Linked DNA regions of Homo sapiens: all the other regions are linked to region 4. Evidence: promoter capture Hi-C in human tissues and cell types (Jung and others, 2019). All regions are on one chromosome and are shown on one strand. Each heading gives the region's core, a stretch centred on a gene start or on the middle of the fragment in contact. The rest is flanking DNA. Distances are from core to core; before and after follow the strand shown. Region 1 has its middle 7.1 kb from the start of LINC02743. Region 2 overlaps OPCML (opioid binding protein/cell adhesion molecule like). Region 3 overlaps OPCML (opioid binding protein/cell adhesion molecule like). Region 4 holds the start of OPCML (opioid binding protein/cell adhesion molecule like).

Region 1 (7,057 bases), core at 4,279-6,778, 280 kb before region 4:
GGCCATTCCGCTCCAGTGTGACCACCTCTTTACAACTACATCTGTGATGACCCTATTTCCAAATAAGGTCCCATTCCGGGTTATTGGGGATGAGAACTTTAGCATATGATTACTTAGGGGACACCATTCATCCCGTCATGGAAGAGAAGGAAGTGTCTTTAATTTGATCTTTGTTACGGGGCTGAGTCCCTCTGCTTAACTGAGAATTATCAATGGGTCTTTGTTCTCAAAGCCCCTTTTATCTCTCTTCCAGCTCTTCAGTGCCTACATTTCTGAACTGGCTTCAAATATTCTTCCTAGAAGGAAAACCCATCCCCCTTAGAAGGAAAGGAAAGGGGCATGTGGTGAATACCTACTATGTGCCAGGCACTATCACGTAGCTTGTATCTCTTTTCTCATTTGGGGATTCTGTGAAATGAGGATGGATCTTCCAGGCCTGGGAGGAGAGAACTTTTCCGGGAACAAGCTCTACACCCTGTGCACACTCCCTAACCTTTTCAAGCCTTTGTTCTGATGTCAGCTTCTAGGCGAGCCTTCCCTGAACACTCTATTTAAAATTAGACTGCTCTGCATTTCTCGTCTCCCCTTTCCCTTGCCCCCATAGCATTCATCCTCACCACCTTCCAACAGAGTGTGTGATTTTCTAAGTTTTGAGTTCATCGTCTGTCTCTCAGCACTGCTGGGCTTCACAAAGACAGCAGAGAGTTTGCCTGCTCTGTTTGCTGAAGTGTTCAGTGCCTAGGGCCATGCCATGCAGGAAACTCAGGGTGCATTCAGCAGATCCCTGTCTGGAGACTAGATTGGAGGTGTCTGGATCTTCCCTGCAAGACTGAGGCTAAAGGCAAGCACCTGGGCTTTTGGAGCTGCAGTGAAACAGATGGGCTTAGCGGCCTCAGGGCTTGTTGGAGTCCCAGCCCGATGCTCTACCAACTAGGCAGCCTGGGAAAGGCAGTTTATCTTTCTGTTCTTTAGTTTCCTCCTTGGAAAATGGGGCAATAACAGTACATCTCTCCCAGGGCTGTTGTGAGGATTAACAAGTAGCACGCATGAAGGAACACTTGGCAGGGGCTGGGCATGCTGGAAGTGCTCAGTAAACGTTGCTTCTACTTGTTAGAGCCGTTGTTAATAACACCAATTCTCACAAAAGAAAACCTCTCTGCTTTTTCTTGTGTCTTTTCACTGTTGATATATTTTGAACTTGACCCCTCATCTCAGAGGTCATGAAATGGTACCTCTGTAGGTAAGAAAGCACAGGATGGTTTTTGCTGTAAAACAATCCATTTTATTCCACTTCTTTCCTACCAGTTTCCTTGGACAGTCACGCGCGTGTGCAGCTGAGAGGACACTGGACTCCTGGCAGCAGGTTCTGTCGACCCCACCTGTGAGTCTTGTGGCCTCGGCCTGTTTATTCATGAAATAACGAGATTTCTTTCTCAGTAGAATGTTTGAAGAGAGTTCCAAAATTTGGGCCATTGAACAGTTGGAATAGAGATGAAGCCAAAAGGGGCTTTGAGGAACAAAGGCCTGTTGATAATTTTTGGTTAAATGGAGGGACCCCAGTGATGTGTAAGGCACTTTCAGTTCTCACTTCCCCTGATACCGCCGTCTATGGGTCAGCCCAGAATATTCCTTCACCGTTGCGGTTGCTGCCGTCTCTAGATTGCGTGTGCTGCCAAGCTTGCCACACCCACTCGGCTTCTGACGCCGTCTAGGCTGGATGCACCTTTGGCCTTGGGAAAGTCTTTTCCTGAGCCGTCTCTGATCCTCAGGGTTAGCTTTGGTTCTCCAGGTTCACTGTGCAGTTCTCCTCCTGCAGGGACCTGGTGCCCAGCAGGCCTGCTCCTCCCTCATCCAGCAAGGCTGGAGCAGACAGGTGCAGCAAGAGGAGGGATGAGGGAATGGGAATGCTGATAGGGTGAAGTCACTAGCTAGTCCTACTGTCTCTCCATCTCTTCCAACAGGACCACTTTCAGGGCCAGCAGAGATGGGACTAGACAGTTGCATTTTGAGTGTGTGTTTTATTAATGAAGGGCGAGACAGCAGAGGAGATCATAATGATATCATAGTATGTCTGATCTAATTATGCTAATCAATTTTTATGGCTCATCAGAGGGAATCCCGATGGGCTTGTGTCAGGAATTCCCCAGAGATCTGGAGAGGTTGCTCCAAGACTTGGAGGGCTGTTGGGAGGACATCCCAAGACTTTACAGAGTTGGGAAGCTTCTGTGGTCCCAGGCCACCATCTGTCCCATCCAGTGGAATGGCTGGGTGGCGGTGGGTGGTGGTGGTGGGGTGTTGCCCTGGGAATTGGGGAAAAACCTCCAAAGAGAACGGATCTGGGAGGGACCAGGAGTGGAGAGGTGGGGGCTGCCAGAGCTTGTGACTCCAGAAGGAGCAGCGGAGGCTCCCGGGTGGGTAGGCTGCTGGATGCGCTGTGTGTGTGGCTCCTGGCCTACTCTGGTGGCAGAAACTGCAACCTAACTGCATACCAGAGTCCTGTGAAACAGGGGCCTTGCCCCGTGCAGATTCATCCACCATGTCGCCTCCCGCTGCACTCTGCTCTCTTCCCACCCATAGACTTTCGAGCACACGTTTAACCCCACAGATTTCATTTCCCCTGCGTTAGCCTGAGAACTACCCAGTTCCTGAGCCGTCTCTGACCTACAGGGTTAGCTTTGGTTCTCCAGCTCCACTGTGCAGTTTTCCCTGTGTCTTCAGTTCTTATCTTGCTTTCCTTCTGCCTGGCTCTCCTTCCCCAAGGACTGTGCCTATTTTCATGGCTGGTCTAGACTCCACTTGCATATGGGCAGGTAACATATTGGTTATTGAAGGCATTCTGGGAAGACCCCAAGATAAATAATCCTCCTTTCACCTCATGCCTAAAATTCCACACGTCATTTATTTATTTGTTTTGGCTTAAACTGCAAGTTCTCGTACAGAGCCCATCTTTCCTGGGCGTGTGAGGGAGGGTGTATGGCGTGCTGTGCTATCACCCATCATATCTGCTGGGGGAATCATTTCCAACCCCTTTCTTGAGGGGAGTTGTTGAGGGTGGTAGGGAGAATGGTGGCCACATTGTCATATTTTGACCAGCACTGCCCAGAGCCGTGTCTCCCATGGTCACGTGTAGGACACACCAGTGTATCCCTCTGTCTTTGTGCAGCTGGGTCTGCCGACTCTGGGTTTAGGGCCTCTGGGCAGAGCACACGCTGTCCCTGGCTGGCCTCCGGTCTTGCTGCTCTGCCGGAGGCCAAGCTTAGCAGGGAAGGGCTCTGAGACAAGCATGTGCTGACTGGGTGGCCCAGAGTGCCTCCTTAGGGCTGGTGGCCTGAGTCTCAGGGCTTTGGGTGCAGGGGAGTAAGGAGAACAGGGGTGGAGCCGTGGGTGTGGAGAAGGCAGCCACAGTCTGGCAGAAGCTAGTTTGTGAACATGAGGTATATTCCTACTGGGGCCCTGGGCTCTCTGTTGTTGAAGTGTGGGGCTCAGAATTTATCGCCAAGAGCAGTCATTGGCTGTATTAGTTTTCTATTGCCGCCATGACAAATGATCACAAACTGAGGTCTTAAAACACAAACCTATCATCAGACAGTTTTGTAGGTTGGAAGTCCAGCTGAGCTAAGGTCAAGGTGTCAGCAGGGCTGTGTTCCACTCTGGATTCACTTTCTGCATTCACTTGCCCTTTCCAGCTTCTGGAGTTCTTCAGCTCATGGCCCACTTCTTCTGTCTTCAAAGCTGGCAACCTTGCATCTCTCTGACCACATCTTCCTTTGTGACCACAGCCGGGAAGGGTTTCTCTGCTTTTAAGGACTCATGTCATTAGACAGAGCCCATCTGGACAGCCCAGGATAACTCAAAGTGCTTAACCTTACTTACAGCTTCAAAGTCCCTTTTGCCATGCTAGGTGACCTATGCACAGAGTCTGGGGGTTTGCACGTGGCTGTCTCTGCTGGTACACTATTCTGCATACCACTGTAGTAGTATCTAGACAAGCCTGAGCAAGACCCTAGGAATGAGCTGCTGGGAAGGCCTGGCTCCCACAGAGCAGGGACTCTGGGACGGGGACAGTTAGGGAAGAGACATAGCGTGATATTACTGTGACTGGACTTTCAGCCTTGCTTTGGGCAGTGTGGAAGTGTGATGGCTAGATGCTCATAAACTCATTTCTTCTTCCCAGGGGCACAGCTGACATAAGCCTTCCTTATAGTTGTGTGGGGCCACAGGACTGAGTTGCGGCCAGTGAAATGTGGGTTGAGGTAAGGCGTGCTACTTCCAGGCACTGACCATGTGATCCTCCACACTGGCAGGATGCACAAGACCCAGGGGAGGCTGCTGAGCGCTGGTGATGGAGAATCAGCCAGACAGAAGACATCTGTGTGGGAGCTGTGACCCTCCCACACGTGTGGGATCACAATATGAATGACCACAAGACTCTATAGTGTTAAGCCATTGAATGATGGGATTCTTAGCTACCGGAGTTAGTCTCCCCAGAATAATATAGATATTGATGCCAGAAGTGGGTGCTTCCATAATAGAAATGCCTAAAACATGGGATATTGGCTTAATAGTCAGGCTGTGGGTGGTGAGGAGACACATCCAGGAGGCTGGAAGGCTGTCAAGCCCTGTGTTGTTGTGGCAAAGTGTTTGGTAGAACTTCACAGTGATGATCTGGAAGGGAGACCATGTGCCTGAGATTTTAGCACTAGGGGAAGTGTTTAGAAAATAGAACATTAGCAGTGTGTGTATATTTATGTGTGGTGGGCTTCTATTGTCTGCCTTTGGCAAAGTATCACAAGAAGAAGGAAGTTAGGAAATAATGAGCTGATTTAAAAGTAATATAAAAAGGGAGTAAGAAGAATGCAAAAGTGTGGTGCCTCAAACATGTTCCAACTATTATTGCTGTGTAACAAATTACCCTAAAACTTAGTGCATAAGCCATTTCTTACACTCCTGGCATCTGTGCATCAGAAATTCCAGCAGGACACAGCAGGGACATCTTGTCCCCGCTGCACAATGTTTGGGGCTCTGCTGGAAGACTTGAAGCTGGTGACTGGAATTATCAGAAGGCTGGTTCACTCGTGTGTTTGGCAGCTGATTCTGGCTGTTGCCTGGAGACTCAGTGCCTGTCCACATAGACTTCTCCCTTTGGTCTCCCCATGTGGGTTCATTTGAATTTCCTCACAGCGTGGTGGCTGGGTTGCCAGGCAGAAGTTCTATCACTTTACCACCTGGTCTCGGCAGTCAGGTGGTGTCACCTCTGCCTGATGTCAGTTGTTATTACCAAGTCACTAAGGTCAGCCCATATGCAGAGCAAGGGGAATCACGCTCCACCTCATGGTGGGCTGAGTGTCAAGGCTCTGGGAGAACACGTGGCGTTGGCAAGATTGTTATGGCCATGGCCCGTTTTGGGAAAATCCAGTCTGCCCCAGAGGGGTTGGAAAAGCTGGCTGCTTCCTTAACAGTAAGGGATGGGATTGAGAAGCATTGAGACAGAGACCCAATAACATGTTTCGATTGAAGAAAGTGATTTAATCCTGTAGCAGAAGGTTAGACTGGGATGCAGCTGTCCCATTCAAGCCTACTGTTCCACATAGTCTCAAGACAGCCGCTGAGAACAAGAGAGGTGGGAGGTAAGGGAGGAGACAACGAAATCAAGCACATCTTAGAATTATGTCTAGGAAAGAATCTTGAGAGTGTTTGCTTTGCAAATGGAGCTGCCTGGAAGCAAATGGATCAGACATGATTAAGTTTTTGAGTTCAAAAGGTCCACTAGAGGACTCTAAGACCCTACAAGATAGGGGAGCCAGGGATGGAAGGAGCCCAGACCCTCCTGACCCCCACACCTGCTCCTAATCATCCCTACTGGTCCACAGTAGACTGGGATACGAGCAAGAAATAAGCCTTTGGGGTTTCTGTAAATAGCAGTTAGTCTACCCTGACTAATACAAGCTGTTTTCCTGGCATATCCTTTGAAGGAATAGTAAATAACATTTGTAAGTGAGTCCACTTCTCTAATGGCCTGGCACACCAATTCCCTGCCTCTCCCACTCCCGCCAGCCATGGCTGATTACTTCAAGGATGTAGAGATGACAAACCAAGCCAGCCGGATTACGGACCTTGGGCATTTGGAATTGGGAGTTTAGCAGGCTGGTGTTTTGCATTTAGGATGAGATAAGCCCAGTGGATCTGGTGGGCTATGCAGCCGCTGCCTGCTGCTACACACAGAAGCAGGGGCCTGGGCTGCAGAGATGGCACTGCTGAGCAGATAGAGTGAGAGGACGCCATGCCCTGGGGTGTCAGGGAGGCGTCCCAGTGCTAGCCTGTGTCCCAGCTGTCGTTTCTTGGGTTCTGTGAGGTTCCTGAGTCATCTGATGGATTCCCTCTGGCCGAATCTAGTTTTAGTGAGTTTCATTTATCATAAATAAGTGTTGATTGAGACACAAGCAACAAAGAAGAGTGATCATGATATTTTGGGTGGAAAGAGGTTACAAATAGATTGTACATTATGATTTTGAACTTGTGACCATAATTATTATATAGATATATAAGAAATGTAGAGTAGACACCAACATATAAACAAGGGTTATCTCAGGAGCTGGAGGAGAGTATAGGTAATTGGTATTTAATTTTTCCTTTTTGCTGAGAATGTATATTGCTTATATTGCTTTAGTAATCCGAAAAAAATCAGGTTTCTTTTATATTATAGATTTGGGGGTACATGTGCAGGTTTGTTACAAGGGTATATTATGTGATGCTGATGTTTAGGGTACAACAGAACCGTTCGCCCAGGTACTGAGCATAGCACCCAAGAGGGAGTTTTTCAACCGTTGCCTTTCTCCCTTCCCCCTCCTCTAGTAGCTCCTACTGTCTACTGTTTCCATCTTTATGTCCATGAGTCCCCAGTGTCTAGCTCCCACTTACAAGTGAGAACATGTGGTATTTGGTTTTCTGTTTCTGCATTAATTTGCTTAAGACAACGGCCTCCAGCTGCATCCATGTTGCTGCAAAGGACATGATTTCATTCTTTGTTATGGCTGCATAGTATTCCATGGTGTATGTG
Region 2 (7,467 bases), core at 1,994-4,493, 440 kb after region 4:
GTTAGTGTTAAATATTTTACTGTGATTCACCTTCTTGGCTCAAACATATACCATTTTTTTATTTAAAGAAACTTTGATCTGCAAACCTCAAAGGCAAAGTAATTAACAGCTACTCTCGCATCACTCAGTACAGGTACATAATTATAGCTGCACCTGCATATTTTTTTTTACTGAAATATTTTATCCCAGGTCCAGATAAGTAGAATAATGCCATTAAAATAAGGCTGATATTTAGACACACGAGGGGACCTGATTTTTAGCACTCAGATGACAGCAGAAAAAATAAACCACATAGACAATGCATCCACCGGACATATCCTTCCACTTACATTCGTGACTTTGACTTAATTTTATATTTCCTCAAAGATTAAAATTAAGATTTATCTATTCTGTTTTTCAAGTGAATTGAATTGACTGATGTGAATGCAGAGATGACATTTGCATCGTGCTGCCTTCTTTTCCCACTGCATTACTCTGATGGCTCTTGTTTAAAAAAAAAAATAAGTACAGATTGCTAACCTTAGCATGAAGAACCTACACAGTCTATATTCAACGTCAGTCAGACACATCACCTGGAGAAAAAACCGTCTACTCCAGTGAACCTGTATTGTTCTAAGCTACAGTTAATGAATGCCTACCACTCACCTGCTACTGGCTTTTGAGACAGACCAATATGGGCTTGAATTTAGGCCCCATTTTCTGAGAGTAATACCAATTTCATAGATCACTATGAGCATTAAGTGGAATTCTAATCATAAATTACCTACGTTTGTGCTGGGCACATAACAGTTGCTTGATAATTATAGTTACGGGGAGCAAGGGGAGGGAGAGCATTAGGATAAATACCTAATGTACGCGGGGCTTAAAACCTAGATGATGGATTGATAGGTGCAGCAAACCACCACGGCACATGTATACCTATGTAGCAAACCTGTACATTCTGCACATGTATCCGTGTATCCCAGAACTTAAAGTAAATTTTAAAAAAAAGAATGAAAATGGAAAAAAAAGAACGATACATTGGATTTGGGGGACGCAGGGGAAAGGTTGGGGGGGTTGGCAAGGGAGAAAAGACTACACATTGGGTACAGGGTACACTGCTTGGGTGATGGGTACACCAAAATCTCACAAATCACCACTAAAGAACTTATTCATGTAACCAAATACCCCTGTTCATCAAAAACCTATTGAAATACAAAAATTAATAATAATAATTATTATAGTTACTATGCATTTATCAAAGATTTGTGTTCCAAGTTACAGACTCTAATTCAAAGTGCCTAGGAAAATAGTGGGGTTTATTAGATGAACACTGGATATCTCTTATAGGCAAACTATGGGATGAGAATGGGTGCAGCTGGGTCTCAGGGATAACTGGCACTAGGAACTAAATGCTGTTGCCAGAAATCCTCTCTCTCTCTCTCTCTTTCTCTGTCTCTCTCCTTTCTCTTTCCACCATTTGCTCCTTTATCTCATAAAGATGTACCAACCTTCTCACAGAGAAAGAACAAGATAATTAACAGCTCTTGAGTTTTGTTTTTGTTTGTTTGTTTTGAGACAGTCTCACTCTGTTGTTCAGGCTGGAGTGCAGTGGGGTGATCTCGGCTCACTGCAACCTCCGCCTCCCGGGTTCAAGTGATTCTTCTGCCTCAGCCTCCTGAGTAGCTGGGACTACAGGTGCGCGCCACCATGCCCAGCTAATTTTTGTATTTTTAGTAGAGACAGGGGTTTCACCATATTGGCCAGGCTGGTCTCAAACTCCTGACCTCATGATCTGCCCGCCTCAGCTTCCCTCCCAAAGTACTGGGATTACAGGCATGAGCCACCACACCCAGCCAGCTCTTGAGTTTTATTCTGTGATTGACCCTCATTCTTTGTGGTTCTCAGTCTGAAAGTTTCAGGGAAGGGCTCCACTTTGTTGACCTTGTATTAGATGCCCAGCTCTTTTCATCAGTTGCCTTGGTCTGTGCTGCTGTAACAAAATGCCACAGACCGGGTAATTTATAAACAACAGACATTTATTTCTCACAATTCTGGAGGCTGCAAAGTCCAGTAACAAGGTGCCGAGAGGTTGGTGTCTGGGGAAGGCTGTTCTCTGCTTCCAATGTAGTGCCCCGTTGCCTCCTCCAGAGGGATGGATGCTGTGTCTTCACATGGTTAAAGAAATGTAAGAAGTAAATTCACCCCCTCAAGCTTTTTCATGAGGTTGCTAATCTCATTCATGAGGGCTGCACCCTCATGACCTAATCACCTTTCAAATGCCCCACCTCTTACAGCTATCACATTGGAAATTAAGTTTCTGCACACGAATTTTGGAAGATATTCAGACTATAAAATTCCACCCCTACGCCTCCAAATTCATGTCCTCACATGAAAAATATATTCATTCCATCTCAATAGCCCCAAAAGTCTTAATGCATTTCAGCATCAACTCAAAATTCTAAAATCTAAAGTCTCATCTAAATATCGTTTAAATCAGATATAGGTGAGACTCAAGGTACAAGTCATCCTGTGAGAAATTTCCCTCCAGCTGTCAGCCTGTGAAATGAAACAAATTATATGCTTTTGAAATACCATGGTGGGAGGGTCATAAGATAGTCATCCCCATTCTAAAAGGAAGAAATAGGGGGAAATAAAGGGTAGTAGGTCCCAAGAGAATCCAAAACTCTAGGGCAAACGACATTAAATCTTCAAGTTTGTGAGTAATCTTCTTTGACCCTATGTCTCACCTCCTGGACACACTGGTTCAGGGGTTGGGCCCCCATGGCCTCAGGAAGCCTCACCTCCACGGCTTTGCTGGGGATAGCCCACACTTCAGTTTGCATTATTGAAGAGGTGCGTGACTGTGACTTTCCCAGGCTGGCGTTGCACTCTGGTGGCTGTACAGTTCTGTGGTATGGGGGAGACTCATTCCCACAGCTCCACTACACGTGGCTCTAGTGAGGATGCTCTGTGATGGCCCTGGCTCTGTGGAAGTTTTCTGCCTGGGCCCTGAGGCTCTCTGAGGCATCTTTTGAAATCTAGGTAAAAGCATCCATGCCCTCACAGCTCGTGAACTCTACACACCTGCAGAATTAGCACAATGTGGACACCACCAAAGCTGACCACTTGTGCCCTATCAAGTGGTGGCCCAAGCTGCACCTGGGTCCACTTGAGCCACAGCTGGGGAAGCCAAGGAACATTGCAGCAGAATGTGAGAAACAGAGATGTTAGTCATCCCTGGGTCTTCAGGTTTGAGGTCCCACAGGTGCCCTGGGCTTCTCCTTTGAAACTATTCTACCCTCAAGGCCTTAGCACTCTAGGAAATGGCATCACTGATAATCTCTGAAATGCCCTCTGGGTCATTGTTTCATTGACTTGATGAATAGCATCTAGCTTCTTTCTAACCATACTGATCCTTATCAAATGGTAGGTTGGCCATACTCTGGGTATTCTCTCTCAAACACACTTTTCTGTTCTTCACAATCTAGCCAGGCTGAAAATTTTCCCAATCTTTAAGTTCTGCTTTCTCTTTAATTATAAATTCTGTCTTCACTTCATTTCTTTCTTCTCATATTTTCATATAAGCTGTCAGGAGAAGCTGTGCAGCACCCTGAACATTTGCTTGGAGGTTTCTTTTGCCAAATTTCCTAGTTCATCACTCTTAAACTCTGCTTTCCACAGAGCACTAGGATATGAACACAACTCAGCCAGGTGCTTTGCCACTTGGTAACAATGATGGCCTTTCTTCCTGTTTCTAATACATTATTTCTCGTCTCCACCTAAGACCTCATCAGAATGGCCTTTGCCATCTATATTTCTACCAATATTCTGTTCATGACCACTTTGATAATGTCTAAGAAGATTTAGGCTGTCTGTAAAGCTCTTTTCTTCTGTGCCCTCATCATAATCAGTCTCAATGCTCTGTTCATACCCATCTAGGGTTTTTTCCTAGCATGCATCTCAAACTCTTCCAGCCTCTGCCCATTACCCAGTTCCAAAGCCATGTCCCCATTTTAGGTATGTGTTGCAGCAGCACCCCAAATATAACAGAGACAAGCAGAGATTTTGAGTTGGCAGGCGAGGTAAGGGAGTGGATGGAGAATTACTAAGAATGTGATTAGGTATCTAGGAGGAGAAGCATGTCTAAGTAGTAAGGGCGGAGAGGATGCTCCATAAATGGGCTCAGCAGGATTCTTGGCTAAAACCGAGCCAACGACAAGGCCTAGTAGAGAAGAGGATTCAGAGGAGACTAAAGTTTCATCAAGGAGACAGTCCTTGTGAATTTACCTGTGTACATTTTTGATATTTAGTGTATCTCCCACTATGAAGTAAGCTCCATTAGGAGAGAACCTGTTAACTTTTGCTCACCATTTTATTCCCAACACCTAGAACAGTGCCAAAGTACGTGGCATGTGCTCAATAAGCATCTGTTTATTAAATCATTGACAGCAGATTTTGAGTGTAATTCCTCTGCTTCAATTTCCTTCCCCAATGTCTCTATCAAACATAAGCCACTGGGTTTTTTTTTTTAGGGGTTGGTTGAAGTCCCCCCTTCTCAACAAATCCTTCTCTGATAGTTTCAGTTCCAAATGTATCCCATTTTTCTGTACTTCAGTACGTAGTTACTGCCTGTACCATTTATCAGGGACTTAATCATATTCTTTCTTATTTCTTAATGAATTCAGCTGTGTGACTCCCAGAACAACTAAATTATGTGCCCTTAGAGAGTGGGGACCTTGTCAGAAGCCTTTTGTTTTGCCTTTAGCACAGAGTATGTTGCTATTGCCTGGTAGATGCTCAGCAAATATCTCCAAACGAGTAAGTTAATTCATTAGTTAATACAATTAATGCTTAGCCCTAAAGTGGTTTACAATTAATAAGAAACACAGAATAAATACTTGTAATTTTACTTACAAAAATAACATTTATCTAGGTAAGTAAAATTCTCTTCAAAGAAAATAATCTGGAAGATGATAGTGCTGTTGTTAAAGTGTATTCATTACTCACATTCTCCTTAGAATCTTCTTTTGGCATAATGTATGCCTGTTTTTTTGTCATATTTCCAGATACTATCTGTATATCTCTACTTGTCACATAGTAGCTATGATCTGAACAGGCAATTGGTTCTGCTCACTTACTATTATCAGAAAGACTGGCTCAAGATCAGCTGCTCCTTTTTGGCACTTGCCCTTCAAAATTTAATTGGCTTAGATCCAACGATTCTATATTATGGGTCAAATCACTCCATCACATTGTGATACATTTGGCAATCAGTGTATATCAGCGGGTTCATCTAGAAACTACATTACTTACTATTAGCCATCCTATGGGAACTTTTGGAGATATTTTCATTGCTCTGATAGATGATTGATATCACTTGCTTTGGAATTTTTCTGGGATGAAATTATAGTAGTCATGCTTAATGTGTTAGAATATGGGGACATGATTACTTATTCTCCCCGTTTTAGAAGCACTGCCAAACCTGCCCCCCTCTCAGATGGTAACCAAAACATTTAGACCATTCTGGGTTGGTAACATGAATGACCTGCGTTCCAGGGGTTTGTCAGAAGCATATCTTGTATAATTCTATTGTTCCACTCTCATTTAAAGTCTTGTTGCAGAAAGTTATTTATCCATGTTATATAATTAATCCACTATTTGAATTAAACTGAAACCACCGCATGTTTTAGCTTGATATCAAGTGATTTTTATTGCAATCCCCTTTGGTATTGTAACCCAATTCATTGGAAGCCAATGGCAAAAGAAACAGATGACAAAATTTCTCTTTGATATTGGAAGATATTGGCGAGGGCAGTGTCCACTGGGACTGTCACTGAGTGTGAGCTTGCTGTTTTGAAGGGAATGGCATTCACTATCCCACATCATGGGCACAGCACTCATGGTCACTTGGATCTTGCCCCTTGTATGAAAGAGTTAATGGTGGCTTATGGAAATGATGTAATTTGCTAAATTAACTAAGTTAGAGGCAAAGGTGAAACTACGTGACTTCGCAATCCGTGCTTTTAAGAGTCAATGGAAAACCATGAAGTTTTCTGTCTCAGTACTTAGCAAAGCCGTGGTTCTCCCATGTAAAAGGTTCATGGTTATTTTGTGTACTACCTGCCTACAGTAAGTAATAGTACTCTTTCTCTTTTGTTAATAATGCAAAGTCAAATGTGCCATCCACTGTCAACATTAATATAAGACTTTTCACATGGATTTTGATATGTACTTCTATGCAGTTGTATTTTATTTCTCACCCTTACCTTCTTATTACACACTTTTTCTCATATATTTATTTTATCGTGCTACACAGTGGATACTTTGGCAAGCTGTCACAAATACAATTTGATAATTACAGTTCACACATTTTACTCTGCTATACCATCTCCTAACCGTCTAGTAAGAGAGCTGAGTGCCCGTTTTACAGATGAGGGCTTTGAAGTTTGGGTAGTGTGATCCTATGACTGCTCAGCTAGCCAGTGCGGGAAAGAGCCTGTAAGCATCAGCATTTGCTGTCAAGCTCGATCATACCTCTACAGGGTTCTAGTCAAGAGCAGCATCTTCCAAATACTGTTCTCTGGCACGCTGGCATGTTAGATATATTAATAGATGCTCCTAAATGTTAACTTAAAAATAGTCTGTAGTCATACGTGTTGGCTAAATATCTCTCTCGGGTTGCGACAGAAAATTAATATGTTAAACTCTGTGAAGCAGAGCAGGTTAAATTGATGTTTTATAAGTTTACTTGGTCCAGCACATATTTTTCTTTTCATTCAAAATGCTTATTCATTGAGTCTACATGGACATAAAGATGGGAACAGTAGACCCTGGGGACTTCTAGAAGGGGGATGGAGGGAAGGGCAAAGGCTGAAGAACCCCCTATTAGGTTCTAGGCTCACTACCTGGTGACTGGGTCATTTGTGCTCCAAACCTCAGCATCGCACAGTATACCCATCTAACAAACCTAGGCAGGTAGCCCCTACACCTAAAATAATACTTAAAATTATACAATGAAAGAAAATGCTTATTAACATCTTCTTCAAAACTGCTATTTAAAAAAATCAACTTGGAAAATGTTGGTAAATATAACGATAATGTTGAAAGAGCCTAAGCAGCAATTCAGTCCTAGCCTCAGCTCTCACTAACCAGCAGCGTGACCTTCATTCAGTCACTTAACCTCTTTGGGTCTTAAGTTCGTCGTCTGTTAAATTATAGGTTTGAACTCGATGATCTCAAATGCTCCTCTCAGTGCTAAGATGTTTGATGTTTGACTCTAAGTGCAATCTCATCTCAGGCAGGCTCAAGTGTATACTTAGGTTCTAAGGGTTAATGTAGCATCCAGAAGAATTTTGATTTGAGAATAAGCTCATAACAAGGAAGGAAATCTTGCCACTTGAGACAACATGAATGAACCTGGAGAATATGCTAAGCAAAATAAGCCAGACACAGAAACACAAGTACCGCACGATCTTACTTATATGT
Region 3 (6,884 bases), core at 79-2,578, 380 kb after region 4:
ACATGGAGTAAGGGCTCGATACACATTAGACTTTGTGATTATTACTAGCATGCCCTAAATGGGCACCTGATATATCTGGAGGCTGTGATTCCTCATTTGTGGAGAATAAAGACACAGAAAACATGTTTCCCAAGACCACTATTTAAGGTTTAAATGAGATAACAAAAGAAAACTGCTGTGGCCTGGGCCTGGCCCAGAGAGAAAGGAGTGAGTGGAGGTGGGCAGTGTTAATCAAGGGATGCTGGCTGGAGCCCTCTGTAGGCAGGGACGGAGTTCTGGGAGAACACAAGCACCAGACGCTTCCCCTCCCCAGTGCTGAGTACAAGTGCTCCGGCCTCTTGAAGAGTGATAGTGACTCAACTCTGGCATAACCACCTCCCTGCTCCCAAAGCAGGCTCTACTTTTATCTCCCCAGACGATCCTCCTGTGAATGGTCAGGCTTTGGATCCAAATTGGATGTCTGCTGTTGAGAATGAAGGATTACTGAGCTGATGGGATGTGCCCAGGGTGGCCTAACGGTCAGCCAGACACCACATGACAAAACAGCAGCAGCTTCAGTGAGCCAGCAGCACCATCCTCAACTGCACATGCTCTAATAACTAATTGGACAAAGTTTCCACAGCCGATTATCAAGTCAAAAACTGATATTTCTTCTGTCTCTGGCAACATCAAGCGTGCGGGTGGGGGTTGAGAGAATTTGGAGGTGGCAACCGACTTATCAGGGACACACTAAATGGTAGAAGGGATGGAAAAGAGGAGATGTAAATTGTATGTCTTCTTTGCAAGTAAATTAACTTCGTTTTACTTTAAGTGGGAAGCCTAGCAGTTGCCTGGGGCCTCTCCTTTTACTGGCTTAAAGAGGCAGGCTAAAAACAGTAGGAAAGAACATTTGCAGGGGGAAATATATGGGTGATATACTACAATGTCAAATTGGAAGATTTCCTCATATCCACAAATCAGGATTCATCTGAATCTCCCGTAGGACCTGCTCCAAATGTCGTCCGTTACCAGTTCTTAATTTATGTTGCCCCATTTGCAAGTATCATGGTGCGTAACAAAGTTAGGACGAACAAACCACAAAACCTAAATAACAGACCTTCAGAGATGAAGAGGACAGCCATCAATTTAGATTTTTAAGCTGCTAAGTAGAATTGAGGTGGCTGTCTGGGTCTGTTGCTTTTCCCAGTTCAGAGAGCAGGTGAAGTGTGGTGTTCAAGGAAGGAGGGGAAGAACGGCTGGCAGTGGGTGAGGGAACTTTTTCTCCACTCTCCTCCTCTACCTTAACCCCTCTCTCCTTCTCAAGACTGAATGCATCAGCCTGCTTGGTTAATCAGGACCCTAAATCCTGAAGTATGGTGGATGCTGCCTGCCCAGTCCATCACTCTAAGCCTTCCTTCCTTCCCTTTTTCAGCTGTCATCTAAGGCAGCTTCCTGAGTGCCAGGGTGGAAAACATGCTGTGCTCAGAGTCAGAATCTGAGTTGGGTCTCTCTGATCCTGGACAGCTCACTGAAACTCTGGACCTCGTCTCTGCCATTTGTAGAGCTGGGACACCAGAACCACTTCCCCTCCTCCCCTGGAGGGCGGTGGGATGGAGCGAGCGCTGAAGTGCGCATGGATGTTTCAGTTCTTCGCCCCCTGCAGGGCGGTGGGATGGAGCGAGCAATGAAGTGCACATGGCTGTTTCAGTTCTTCACCACTCCTCTCTTCTGTCTACCCGAAGGCCAGTCTCCTGCAAAGTGGACAGAGATTCCAAACCAGTGCCCAGGGCTGTGAAAACCAACAGCCAGCGATACTTCCCTCCCTCTTGTTTCAGAGAGGTTGGAGCCATCATTTCCATTTACCAACGCAGTAAGAAGCAGATATCTGGAGGCGACAGGGGAGTCTGCATGGATTGCACGTTCCCTCCAAGTTTATCGTCTCTGGCTGTGAGCTCTCAGTACAAATTATCTGATCAATGGCATGAGGGAGCAAGCTTGGTCAGTGTTAGAGTAAGGCAGTGGGCAAGCCTCACCTCACAGTACCTGGGCCACAGGAGAGAGGCTACCTCGTGAGGAGCAGTAGAGGAAATGGGAGCTCTCAGTGGATCTTCTGAAGGGAGGAGGGAAATGAGACCTCTGGATTCTATAGGAGTTTAGCATTTTGAGAAATCCACTTAATTTTCTCCTGAAAGGCAGCTATTTGGGGGCAGACAGTGGAAAAGCTGGCTGTGTGGCTGCCTGGTGGCCCCAGGGTGACATTCTCACCTTTATCACCATGGCTTCCCAACATCAGATGGCAGCTGGGGTGGGGAGGGATGAGAGATGGGCAGGAGGAAGAAAGCGTTCGCTGAGTAACAACTGCAGGACGGGCAGTAAACGGGGCAATTTTGAGTTAAATGCCATCATCATTCCGTCTTTGCAGATGAAGTAACAGAGGTTATGAACTAGCTGAGTATGCACAAGTGATGAGTAACAGTGTGAACCGGTGAATTCCTCAAGGACAGGGATTCTATCATTTGCAGTTTGTACAACCAGGACCTGTCTGCTCTGGTGCCTGGCACTCAGTAGGGACTGATTTAAAGGGGGATGTGGTGAGATGGGGAGCAGGGCGGGTTACATCGGCTTTTGTTGAGCCCCTGTGAAGTATCAGGCAGAGCCACCCATCCCTTCTGTGTATTACCTGGTTTAATTCCCAAAACATCGATCCCAGGTAAGCATTCTTATCCCCATTTTATAAACCCACACATGCTTGCTAAGGTCAAAGTCACTGCTGCTTACCATCGAAATTGGCCTTTTTCTCGCTCAGAGGGTAGAGTCTTCCTGTTTTGAAGCGGGTAGGGCTTTCTCCGTGTCCTGTCTGCTCAAGATGCACCTCCCAGATGCCAGATCTGCACGCTGGGCCTAGCTTTCTCCTTTCTCAACTTTGGCCTCCAGACTATCAAAAGTGATAACTCCTCAAATCTCCCATGACCTACTGCCTCCCTCGTCTTCTTTTACCTGCCTCTCCCCTTCTGAGTGGTCAGCAGGTTTTCTTGTTCCTCTGTGTTGGTGAGAGATGCTGCAGACAAAGCCTGCGTGTAGAAAGTGGCACTGCCTATCAGCCTTAGTGATAGGAACACCCCCCTGAAGAGCTATTTAAAGTTGAAGTGATCAGAGGAGGCGGCAGCCCCTGACACTCAGGGATTGGGTGCCGTGCCCTGTTGCTGACTGAAGGAGTTCTGTTCTTTTAATATTTGATGGGGCTGCCTTGGAGACATTTATTTAAGCATGCTTCATTCATTGGAGTCTCCTGCAGAGGGGAAGCTTGCAGGGGAAGGCACCACGGCTTCTCAGTACTCAGCAAAGGTCAGGAGGGGAATAGCTGATAAATTGGACAGCTCTTTTTAGAAGTGTAATCTCAACTGTGTGTGTTTTTTCCCCTTGTCCACAGTGAACATGGGCTCTAGCCCTGTCATGTTACTGGGCCTGTGCTGGGGGGAGTTCCCTACTTATGCAAGAGACAGATGAGGATAGGAGATAGAGGTCCCGGCGTGGTGGTTCATGCCTGTAATCCCAGCACTTTGGGAGGCTGAGGCAGGCAGATCACCTGAGGTCAGGAGTTCAAGACCCAGCCTGGCCAACATGGTGAAACCTCATCTCTACTAAAAATAGAGAAAAATTAGCCTAGCATGGCCAGGCACGTTGGCTCATGCCTGTAATCCCAGCACTTTGGGAGGCCGAGGCGGGCAAGTCACAAGGTCAGGAGTTCAAGATCAGCCCTGCCAACATAGTGAAACTCCGCCTCTACTAAAAGTACAAAAATTAGCTGGGCATGGTGGCGGGTGCCTGTAATCCCAGCTACTCGAGAGGCTGAGGCAGGAGAATCTCTTGAACCCGGGAGGCAGAGGTTGCAGTGAGCCAAGATTGTGCCATTGCACTCCAGCCTGGGCGACAAGAGAGAAACTCTGTCTCAAAAAAAAAAAAAAAAAAAGAAAAGATGGAAGATAGAGCATGGCAGGGAACATCTCCACACTCTCATTGATCATGACCTCTCCCTCCCAGAGCTCCAAGCATCAGCTCACTCATCATCCCTGTGTCCTTATCAAGAAGACCATTAGTGGGATTAGTAGCCCCATTTCTCTTTTACGCAGCCACAGTCCCACAAAGGCTGAGTGATTTATCTGGCAGCACACAGTACAGGCACAGTAAGCCTAGAGTAAAAATCTCAGCTCTTAGAACTCTAGTCCCTCGCTTCAATCATGGATCTATGCTAGCATTTAAAAATGGAAATAATAAGACATTATCACAGGGCTACCATTGTTAGAAATGTCTATGAACATCATTAATACCTTGTAAGGTATTCGCCAGTGTAAATTCATTCTCTCTCCTCCCTTTACTTTTTAAATGACACTCTCCACTTCCTGTCATCATGGTTCCAACTTCCAGATCTTTTGTTTGCTCCTTCCTCTCTGTTGTCTGCGAATTCACTCAGCAACCACAGCCTGCCCATTGGTTATACCTTCCAGTGCTGACCCCTCCGGCACACAGCTGAGGGCACAGCACCAGCTCAGGGCCTCATGGCCATGTCCCCACCTTCAAATCAGTCTTCCTACCTCCACGCTCTTTCTTATCCAATGTGCCTTATGTACTGCCGTAAGGGTTACCTTGCTTCTTTCTTTTTGTCCTGCCTCTCCTGTGTTCACAAGCTGTGGGTGGCTCTTCATTGCATTCAGAAGAAAGCACAAGTATTTAAGCCTCACATTTGAAGTTCTCAACACTGTGACCTTATCAAACTTTCCAGGTTTCCTTCCAGCACAACTTTTTCTCAACTGCTACTCCTATCCCCATGCCTAATTTGCTTGCTGACCAATTTAATAATTACCTTTCTCTGGTTTACCTTTAAGAGGTTCTGTCTTGCTACAATTGCCTTTTCTACCTTCTCCCTTTTCTATAATTGCCAGTCAACATTGCATCTAACTTGCAAAGCTTCAGTAAATTTCATCTCCTCGTAAATGTCCTGTGATATGGCCACTCTCCTCCACCTTGATAAAATATGTCTTTCTAGAACATTTCCACAGCACCCTGCCTCAGTTATAGCACTGTCATTAATCGTAGTCAGCCCTAGATTAATTAATAGTAGACAACTTTATCTCTTTATCCCCCAAAGAATCAGGTAAGCATACATGATAAGTCCAAAGCATATTTGTTTAAATGAATTCTCACCTGGTCTCACTCGCTGCCGTTTTCTGCTGATTCCCACATGCCACCTGAAGACTCAGCTCCCATCTGGCCACTGTTGTTGCTAAGAGCCCAGGTTACCTCTTGCCTAGATGCCCACAAAGTAGCTGCTTTCTGCTTTCCAGAAACTTGAATTAATTCGCTGCTCGGCTGTGCTAATTTCACTTTGTCTGTCACCCAGATGTCTGTGTATTGTTTTTGATTCATTGCTTGAATTTGGATCTATAGCTTCTGCTGTTTTACTAGAACATGATGGAAATATCTCTTAGCTACCTGTTACCAAAACACATGTAAAAAATAGCTTCTTTTGTTAGAATATAGACACTTGATCACTTGTTTCAATTCATTTGAGATAAGACTGGATATAAACACATAAAGATAAGGATGGATATACAAGTATAGGAAGTCAGACCATAATCAAACTCATCTAATCACTTATGCACTCGACAAATGCTTACGAAGCTTTGACTGTGTGCTGGCCAGCGTGCTAGATGCTTCCCATGTGCCGAAAGCACAGCTGAAGGCTTCCCTGGGCTTGTAGGAAAGACACTCTTGATAGGTTCTCACAACTCACAAATCGAGTCCATCCCTCCTTGCCATCACTTCTGGATGGGGAGGAATTTGAAATGGATACGCCAGCTGCCTGAAGAAATAAAACATTATTGCTGAAGAGGGTCAAAAGGCAACCCTCTAAACAAAAGGGGCAAGGGGTTGCTTAATGGCATGGATGTGTGTCTCCCTTTGGGCTGGAGCCAGGCTCTGCTCAGGGCCTGTGCAGGCAGGTGGCAGGGAGTGCCATGGTCGCATGGGGCTGAATCCTCACGGAATCCCTGGGAACCAGCCCTGGGAAGAGAGCGCAGTGAAGCAGAGATGGGCTGCTGTTTTTTCCCTGTTTTTCTAGTGACTGAAGCATTCGTCGTGAAAGAAAAAGGGAGTTGTCCCTCCTTCACATGCCCTTCTTGAAGCTCCCTTCAACGTCCTCTCTCAGAGGAGAGAAGAAGATGAGACACAAGGAGGCAGGCAGACCCTAAGTGGCACCTCTTCACATCCAGACATGAAACAAGAACCAGACAAAACAGCATGAGCTCAAGGGCCATATGAGCCCTCCTCCATCTCCACAGAGTAGCATCTCAAGAGCCCTCCACCTTCCATCTCTCTTACCTCTTCCTGCCTCTTAGAAAGAGCAATGTGGTTTATAAGCCGATTGCAGCTAGTATCACAGCAATTGAATGTGTATTTCCGTGGAAGAAAATAACAATGGTATTTATTAACCTAGAAAGATAAGTAGGCACTTTCTCAGCAGTCCTGGCTTCTAGTTGAGAGGTTAAGGCAGGCCAATAAACATCCCTTTCCTCATTTACCCGACAAGGAAAATGGCATCATCCGATTCATGCCTCCTTTATCTCAGTTTGCTCTGAGGTCCAGCTGAGATGAGATATGGGGAAGGGCTTTGAACAGTGCATTAGTTATTCTAAAAGATCCTAAGTGTTCTCGTAAGCAACCCACAGATTTTAGTGCTTAATCAAAAATTGTTGTTCCTTTCTCACATGTCACAATACTATGTGGGTCTGCAAGGAGTCTGCTCCATGCATGCATTCTGGGACCCAGACTTCTTTCATGCTGTGGATCTGTCACCTGCAGACCTGATGTTTCTAGGTCATGTTGGTCATTCCACCCCATAGAGAATG
Region 4 (7,170 bases), core at 2,370-4,869:
TTGGTTTGTTCCCCCACATTGTTGCTATTTAAATACAGTTTTGATGATTTTGTTTGCTTTGGAAGAAGAAAATAAAGATTCACAGAAGGTATAAAATTGCATATTATTTACCCCAGAGAAGAGAGCAGTCCCCCTAGTAAATATGCATTGAAGCATTTTTATTTGTATTTGTATTTTTTAAAGATGTTTAAATAGACCCAGTAGACCGTAATATCTCTTTACAGAGTTGGTGCCATCTATTGATTAAATATGCATTTATACATTTCTTCCTCTACTTTTTTTAAATAAAAGAGACATATGTTTTAATCATATAATAGACCTAAAAGAATTGATCAGTGAAAATACATATTTATGTGTTTCCTTAAGGAAGATCATATTAGGTATACAAATTTTAAAAATTTTTTCCTGCTATACATAGAAGTGTGTTAAATGTGAATTTAATTAAAAGACTTGGGGTATGTGTGTGTGTGTATGCTCATGTGTGTGCATGTGTGTGGACTAGGAAAAATGTTGGCAGAATAAATGGGTGTTTTTAAAACAAAAATATAGTTGACAGGGAAAGGTGAAAGAATGTAAACTCTGGAGTAAGAAAGACCTCAATTTCCTTGCCACTTATTAGTCTTAGAGGAGGGACTCGAGACTCTCTGTAACTTGTTCTATTTATTTATCTTTGAAATGGGCTAGCAATACAGAGAAAATTTATGAAGTTCCTAGGATTGTGATTGGCCCAAGACAGTTTAATGAAAGTTTGCTCCTGTCTGGCCACTAGCTACCGACTAGTAGTGTGTGCCCCTCTTTCCTGGAGTGGGGTTGGGGCTGCATGGAATGCACTTCCATGTCCTCAGGTGCTACTGCACAGGCAGCGCTGGGACTCGGTCCCCTCCTAGGCTGCCAGTGCTGCTCCTTCTCTCTCCTCCTGGTGGTTAAGAGCACCAGTGGTGAAGGCAGGCCTTGAACCGGGGCTCCACACCCGGGCAGCTCTGCAATGTTGGGGATGTTATTAAAGCTCTTTGAGCTCCAGTCTCTCCCTCTAGTCTGTGTGGGTGATAAATAAATAGGGATTTATAAGGGCAATACCTGAGTGATTGGCATGTGAATATTCAATAAAATGATGGTGCCCAATATGATAATTTCTTCTAGGGAGTCGCTTATTTGGAAACAGAAAAACCCAGGATTAAATTTTGGCTGTCACTAACTAGCTGTGTGACCTCGGATAAATTACCTAACCTTTCTAAGTCTCGGTTTCTTCATCTCTCAAAAAGGCATAATTACACCTTCATAGAGTAACGGCTAGGAATTGAATGTGATAATATTTTTAAAAAAAATCTAGCCTGCAGAGGGTGAATACATGATGTCTATTATCCGTAGAATGCCATCAGTCACTACGTCCTCCTAACTCTTCTGCGTTCCACATACAACCCCCTTCTTTTCCTCTTCTACTGCTACCACCAGTTCCAGGATCTATCAAACTTGGGCCATGCCTACTAACAAGTGTGCTTGCCACAATCCCTCCTGTACACTTCACCCAGATTAATTTCCATAAATTAACTCCCTCTCATTCACAGCGCTCCCCTGCTCAAAAAGAAATTAACTGTTTTTCCCAGCAGGGGGAAATTTCTAAATCACTGGTCTAGGACTCAAGGTCTTTCTCTCTTGGTCTCCCATCTCCTCCCCTAACTCCCCCCTGCAGGGTTTCTACCTGTGTCTGCTCTCTTCCCCTCCATGAGATGTCTATCTCATTTCTGTGGCCTATCTGGTCTCTCCCACAATTTCAAGCCAGTTGTATTCTCCAGCGTATTCAGCCACTGGTAATAATTCTGGATTTCTGCAGGATTCCAGCATTGCCTGAAGGATTCACATATCAATTTGCTTGTGAACGACATGTTTGCAGTGATGAGGTCTACAAAATTTGACTCTAACAGTGTGTACGTGTCCTATTATTTTTATGTACATTCGCAAAGTCACAATGCTAACTTTTGGCTGATCTCCTGACTTATATTGTATGCCCTTTATAGACGAGAACAAATCATATTCTTCATATTCTCATCCCTGAAAAAATGACTATGTTAAGTAGGTACTTCATAAGTGTCAGCGGATGATACAATCATCATCTGTTTTCTCTTTTACTGCTGAAGTTTTCTGACTTGTTCATAAGGAGGGGAGTAATCAATTGTTTTACTTCTTTAAAAGTAAACATGATTTATTTTATAGAAAGAGAGGCGCTCAGTCAGGCCCAAAGAACTTGTTGGCAATTGGCTGCTTTATAAAAACTGTGTGGATTTTGCAGGACAGACCTGGGTTTTTATCTTAACTCATTAGCTGTGTGGCAAGTCACTGAATCGCTGTCAACCTCAGTTGAAAATTCAGGGGTCATAATGCCTACAAGGAAGGACGCTGGTGAGGATTAACTAAAGTGATAGAGGTGAATACCTGCCCATAGTAGGTCACTTGGGAAAACTTTGGGAATTGCAGCAAAGGAGGAAGGGAGAAAGACCTCCTGTGGAGTGTCCCTCACAGACCTCAAGGTGTGGACACGTGGAGCTGGGAAGGAATCCAAGCCACTTGAGGTCTTCGGAGAGCACCTGGGACAGAAATCGTCTGCTGAGTCCCTTCTCTAATACTTGGTGCTATTTTGATCACAGACCCTCCAAGTTCAGGGTATAGTTCAGTGGCAGCACCACTCAGCCAGCAAGGTGTGCTGCTTACAAGCACGTGTTAGGGAGGGCAAGCAGGCCGTTTTAGAGCAGGGGAAAGTTCTGAGGTTTCTTACACCCAGAGATACTGCCATCCTGTGTAAACTGCCGGTGTAAACTGCCATTCCAGAGGAAGGGACAGACTGGACCCTGAAAAGGAGAAGCAGAAAAAAAAAAAACAGAAGGAAGCCACAGGTATCCTTCTGTGGCCTTCTCCTTGTGAAGATTTCCGATGACTTCAGCAAGTTTCCGCCTCCTTGAGATCTAATCTGAATCTGTCCCTGCCTATGCTGTAATCATAGCAATTGTTTGAGCTTCTATAGCATCTTGCCTTGGTAGAGTTTCAGAATGCTCTGATTGTGGGGAACTGGCCAATTCTCCCTGCATCATTGGTTTAAAACCGTAACATGCCCATCTCCTTACTGGGAAAACCAACTGCTTCCAAATGCTGTTAATGGCCGAATGGAGGGGTAGGGTGCAGATTTAAATGTCTGAGCTCTCCCCGTGGGTAGCAGTTCCTGCTCCATCCCTGCCTGGAGACTAGGAAGAAGGAAGAATGATAAGGAACTGGCATGGGCATTAGTCACATTTCTGCCAAGCAACCTTTCTTTCTTGGTGTGCCCTGAGCCCTGCTGGCAGTGCCAGGCCCTCTCCACTGCCCACCAAGGAGCTCGTGTGTGTTCACGTGTCCACGTGAGCCCCACATCAACATACTCACACAGATAGCAACACGCAGGGCTGTGCTCCGGTGAGGGGGTGAGTGAGGGGCCGGCTTCGACTCCCCTTGGAGTCAAGCCTTCCAAGCAGGAAAGTCTCCTTCCGTCGCTCAGGAGAGTGGAGCCAATGCGTGCCTTGGAGGACTGCTCTGAGCCCTGTGCAGATTGGTGCTGATGATTCTTACCAGTTGTGTGCAAGAAAAGAAATCAGAGACGCTGCCTGCCTGCTCCCATCTCTCGCGCGCTCTCTCTCTCTTCTGCTCTCTCCCTCCCTTTGCAAACATTGGATTTAAACCTGCTCAGAATTCAGCACAGAGGAAGGCAGCAGCGGTAGCAGCAGCAGAAGCAGTAGCAAGCCCGGCAGCTGAGAGCACCGCAGCGTCGAGATGTACCATCCTGCCTACTGGGTCGTCTTCTCGGCGACAACTGCCCTGCTCTTCATCCCAGGTACCGTACAGGGGAAGGGTGTTTTCTCTCCCTGGGGTGATTGTACGACGTGAGAGCAGGAGAGGCAGTGGGGAGATGGAGAGGCAAGGAGGAAGGGGTGAGGACAGGGAGTGTGAGATGCATGTGAGTGAAAGAGGTAGGCTTGCTGTGTGCACGCACACACACACTCACTCGCTCACACGCGCGCAGATGCTTTCAGCACGGGATTTGCTCTCTGTTCCGGGGGATCCAGTGAGCTGGGTTCGAGATCTGCACCATGCTGTGAGGCACTGCTGTTTCAGTGAAAGTCACCAACTGGCATTAACCAGCTGTGGTCCTGGGGGTAGGAGAAGAGGGGTTTGAACTCCCAGCCATAAATCCTTCTTGCTGCCTATGTTGGGACCTGCAGGGTGGAAGGGGCACCCTCTTATCTCTCTCAGTCGTGGTGGTCTCTCTCTGTTTCTGAATCAGTCCAGATCTCTGCGCCTCCCTGTCTCTCTCTCTGTTTCTTTTCTCTCTCTCTCTCTCTCTCTCTCTCTCCCTCTCCACCTCTCCCCACTCTCCTCCTCCCTCCCTTCCTTCGGAACTGCTCTCCCCTACCCTCTCCCCCTGGAGCTCCTTCCCTGCCCCATCCCTCCTTCTCAGCTCACTCATCTGCTCCTGCATTTCTTGTTGTAACACAGGCCCTCTACTGCCTGCCGTCCTTTCTTTATCCTTCCACCAAATGGGCAGATTATGCCCTTGAAATTCGGAATCCTCTCAGTATCTCCTTCCTGTTCCTTACGTCAGGAATATGAATTTCCCTTGGCAGAATTTGGGATGTCCCTGCTGAGGGAAGGTTGGAAATTTGGATTTGCCTGATTCTCCCCAGCCCCTTCCCCACCTTGTCTAATGATTTAAATGTGATCCCACCTCTCACAGCAGTTATTTGTTTGGGGAAAACAAATCTGCAGTGACACAGGTAAGATGCTGCAATCCTACCAAAATGAGCTTAGCAGAAGCGTTGCAAAATTGAAGGCATCTTAATAGATTTGATAATTGCACAGGAGTCCTTTGCAAGCAGACAACTGAATGCCTGCAGGCATCTTTCAAACAATGCCGAAGGGGCTAGGTTATGCTTGCCAAGGTTTTAGGCAGCAGCAAAAGTGTCGGTTTTCATACCAAACCGTCGCACAGTCAGGATCTCTTTTTTTCCCCCAAATTGAGATAAATGCATTGTGTTAAACATTAGCTTAAACCTAAATTTTCATACATATATACACAGACAGGAATGCTAAGATTTTAAAACCTTACCTGCCTTTTTATAGGTAAAACATACAGTTTTATGTTTCTATATTCAGTATTACTTGGTAGGGTTTTGTGGGAATATTTTCAGTGTTGTTTTTAATAATATAATTCCCTGAGTAGTCCTAAGATGCCAAAGTGAAATCAGAAAAATGGAAGTTTACTGGGGAGAAAGAAGAGAGGATCAACTAAAACAAGTAATCCAGCCTGTAATGTTTTGTAACACCTTGTGAAGATGGCACTTTTTAAAGCAGGGATGGGCTCTGCATAACCATGTTCCCAGCTGTTTGTTTTAGGCTGACCAAGAAGTTCAGAGTGGGGGTTGCTGTTGTTGTTATTCCAGATTCCAGCAGCATCCTAGGGGGTCCAGCCTGGGGGCTGTGCTCAGCAGGGAAGGCAGAGCCAACGGAACACTCAGTACCTGCCTGAGCCTGGTAGAGGGAGCTAGGTGGGTGCACTGGGTCCGTGGCAGGAGAAGACAAACTTTCCTGCGTAGGCAAGTCCCCAGCTGGATGGCAGCTCCGGGGGGCCTCCTCATACCCGCTTCCCCTCCTCTCACTGTGCTGGAGCAAAGATCAGGACCCCCATCCCAAGGGAATCCTGGCTGTATGGATGCGCCCCTTATGGCAGAAATCATAACATTACACTTTAGAAAGCAAGGCGGGGGGTGAGCCCCAGTCTGCAGAAGCTGCATTGCAGCGCGCCCTGAAGGAGCCAGGAGCCAGGGTGAGACCTCCTTCTAGGGGTCCCGTGGCACTGCACTGGTGGGGAGCAGGCAGAACTTGCTTGCAGGAGAAGTACCCGAAACTAAAGCCGGCTGAGGGAAAGGAGGATGAACCTGCACCCCTGCCTGACCGTCCTGAGCATGGTGGATGAACGACAATGACAAGCTATCCCCCCCACCCCCCTGCCCCCATCTTCTGGGGGAGAGCAGGGTGTGGACATCACTGCAACATGCCCTCTTTCTGAAGAGTCTGTTACCTGCTTTGAGGGCTACTCTTATGCTAATTGTGTCAGGAGCCCGGTAAGAACAAGAACGGGGAGGAGAAAAAGTTAGCCTTAGAAGGTGTCGGTGAAAGAACGCTTCGCATCTTGAGGGGTTCCTGTGGGAAACCTGGCTGGATCCGGAAGTTCTGATGAGCTGCCATGGCTTACTTGCGACTTCTCCTTTCTCTTTTCTTTTACTTCCTGTTATAGCTTTAGACTTTTTTTTCTTTGTTTCAAATGATGATGCTTTTTCTCCCACAGGGATTAATACCAGCTCGTTAGCCACTTACTTTCACTGCGTCTAAAAACCAAAGGCTGATGTAATAATGGAACCTTGACCTGGTTAGGCCTCAATGCCATTTTATTCTGCAGCTTCTATTTCTTGGTAAAACATGTATCCATCCCAGAGTAATTTTAAGGTTAATGCTGTTGTCGCCTGGTACCTTCCACTGATATCACAAATAGCTTTTCTAGGCAGAATTTCTGGGATGGAAAAGACAGTCACCACGTGGAGACTGAGATGAGCCCACACCCAAGACAGGGCAGAGGGCCCGTGGCCAACTGACTTGTCATGCTAGAGGCACAGTCCGAGGCTCTGGACACCCCTGGTTGGGGTAATTTTGTTGTTCTAGTAGGAGGAGAGAGATAGTCTGGGCTGGTGGCCTTCTTGACCTTGGGTCTGGGGGCTCTGTAGGAAGCAGGAAGCGAATACTGCTAGATATGTGCATCAGAATCACCTAGGAGGAGAGAGGCAGGTTAAAATGTGGAGTCCCTGTCCTCGTCTCAGACGGAAGCATTTTGAACTAGCATCCCAGGTCCTTCTGATTACCTGCAAACCACTCTGTCTGTCACTTAAAACCTGTGACCATGGCCTACAGTATTTGAGTATTTGAGTATTTGAGTCAAAACCTGTCTTCTTCTTGTCTTTTCTCCTCCAGCTTTGAGAAATGGCTCTGTGGCCATGGGGCAGGGTGGAGTAAGGGCAAGAAGATGTTGTCATTGCCAGCAGCCAAGGCTCAGTTCCTGAGGCACAGTGCTGCCCAAGTCCTTCCAGGGGCCAGCAC

What was found. The method cuts DNA at HindIII sites, captures the fragments that hold promoters and counts their contacts. A contact is called where the count stands out against the background at its distance.
Region 1: a fragment that was not itself captured here is called in contact with the fragment with the promoter of OPCML in region 4 in 1 of the 25 tissues and cell types used here (dorsolateral prefrontal cortex).
Region 2: a contact is called between a fragment that was not itself captured here and the fragment with the promoter of OPCML in region 4, in 1 of the 25 tissues and cell types used here (dorsolateral prefrontal cortex).
Region 3: a contact is called between a fragment that was not itself captured here and the fragment with the promoter of OPCML in region 4, in 2 of the 25 tissues and cell types used here (H1 embryonic stem cells and dorsolateral prefrontal cortex).

The regions. Positions count from the first base shown.
Region 1 is chr11:133,813,904-133,820,960 of GRCh38, reverse strand. No RefSeq gene overlaps it. Among named protein-coding and RNA genes, the nearest start is that of LINC02743, 7.1 kb to the right of the region's middle. The HindIII fragment of the contact is 5,580 bases long and covers 2,739-7,057 here.
Region 2 is chr11:133,086,811-133,094,277 of GRCh38, reverse strand. All of the region lies in intron 1 of OPCML (opioid binding protein/cell adhesion molecule like), which reads left to right. Among named protein-coding and RNA genes, the nearest start is that of OPCML-IT1, 280 kb to the left of the region's middle. The HindIII fragment of the contact is 5,557 bases long and covers 465-6,021 here.
Region 3 is chr11:133,143,378-133,150,261 of GRCh38, reverse strand. The region is part of intron 1 of OPCML (opioid binding protein/cell adhesion molecule like); the gene reads left to right. Among named protein-coding and RNA genes, the nearest start is that of OPCML-IT1, 220 kb to the left of the region's middle. The HindIII fragment of the contact is 7,946 bases long and covers 1-5,301 here.
Region 4 is chr11:133,528,950-133,536,119 of GRCh38, reverse strand. OPCML (opioid binding protein/cell adhesion molecule like) reads left to right here and starts at 3,619. Exons shown (of 8, transcript NM_001012393.5): 1 at 3,619-3,856. The coding sequence starts at 3,796. The HindIII fragment of the contact is 11,580 bases long and covers 1-7,170 here.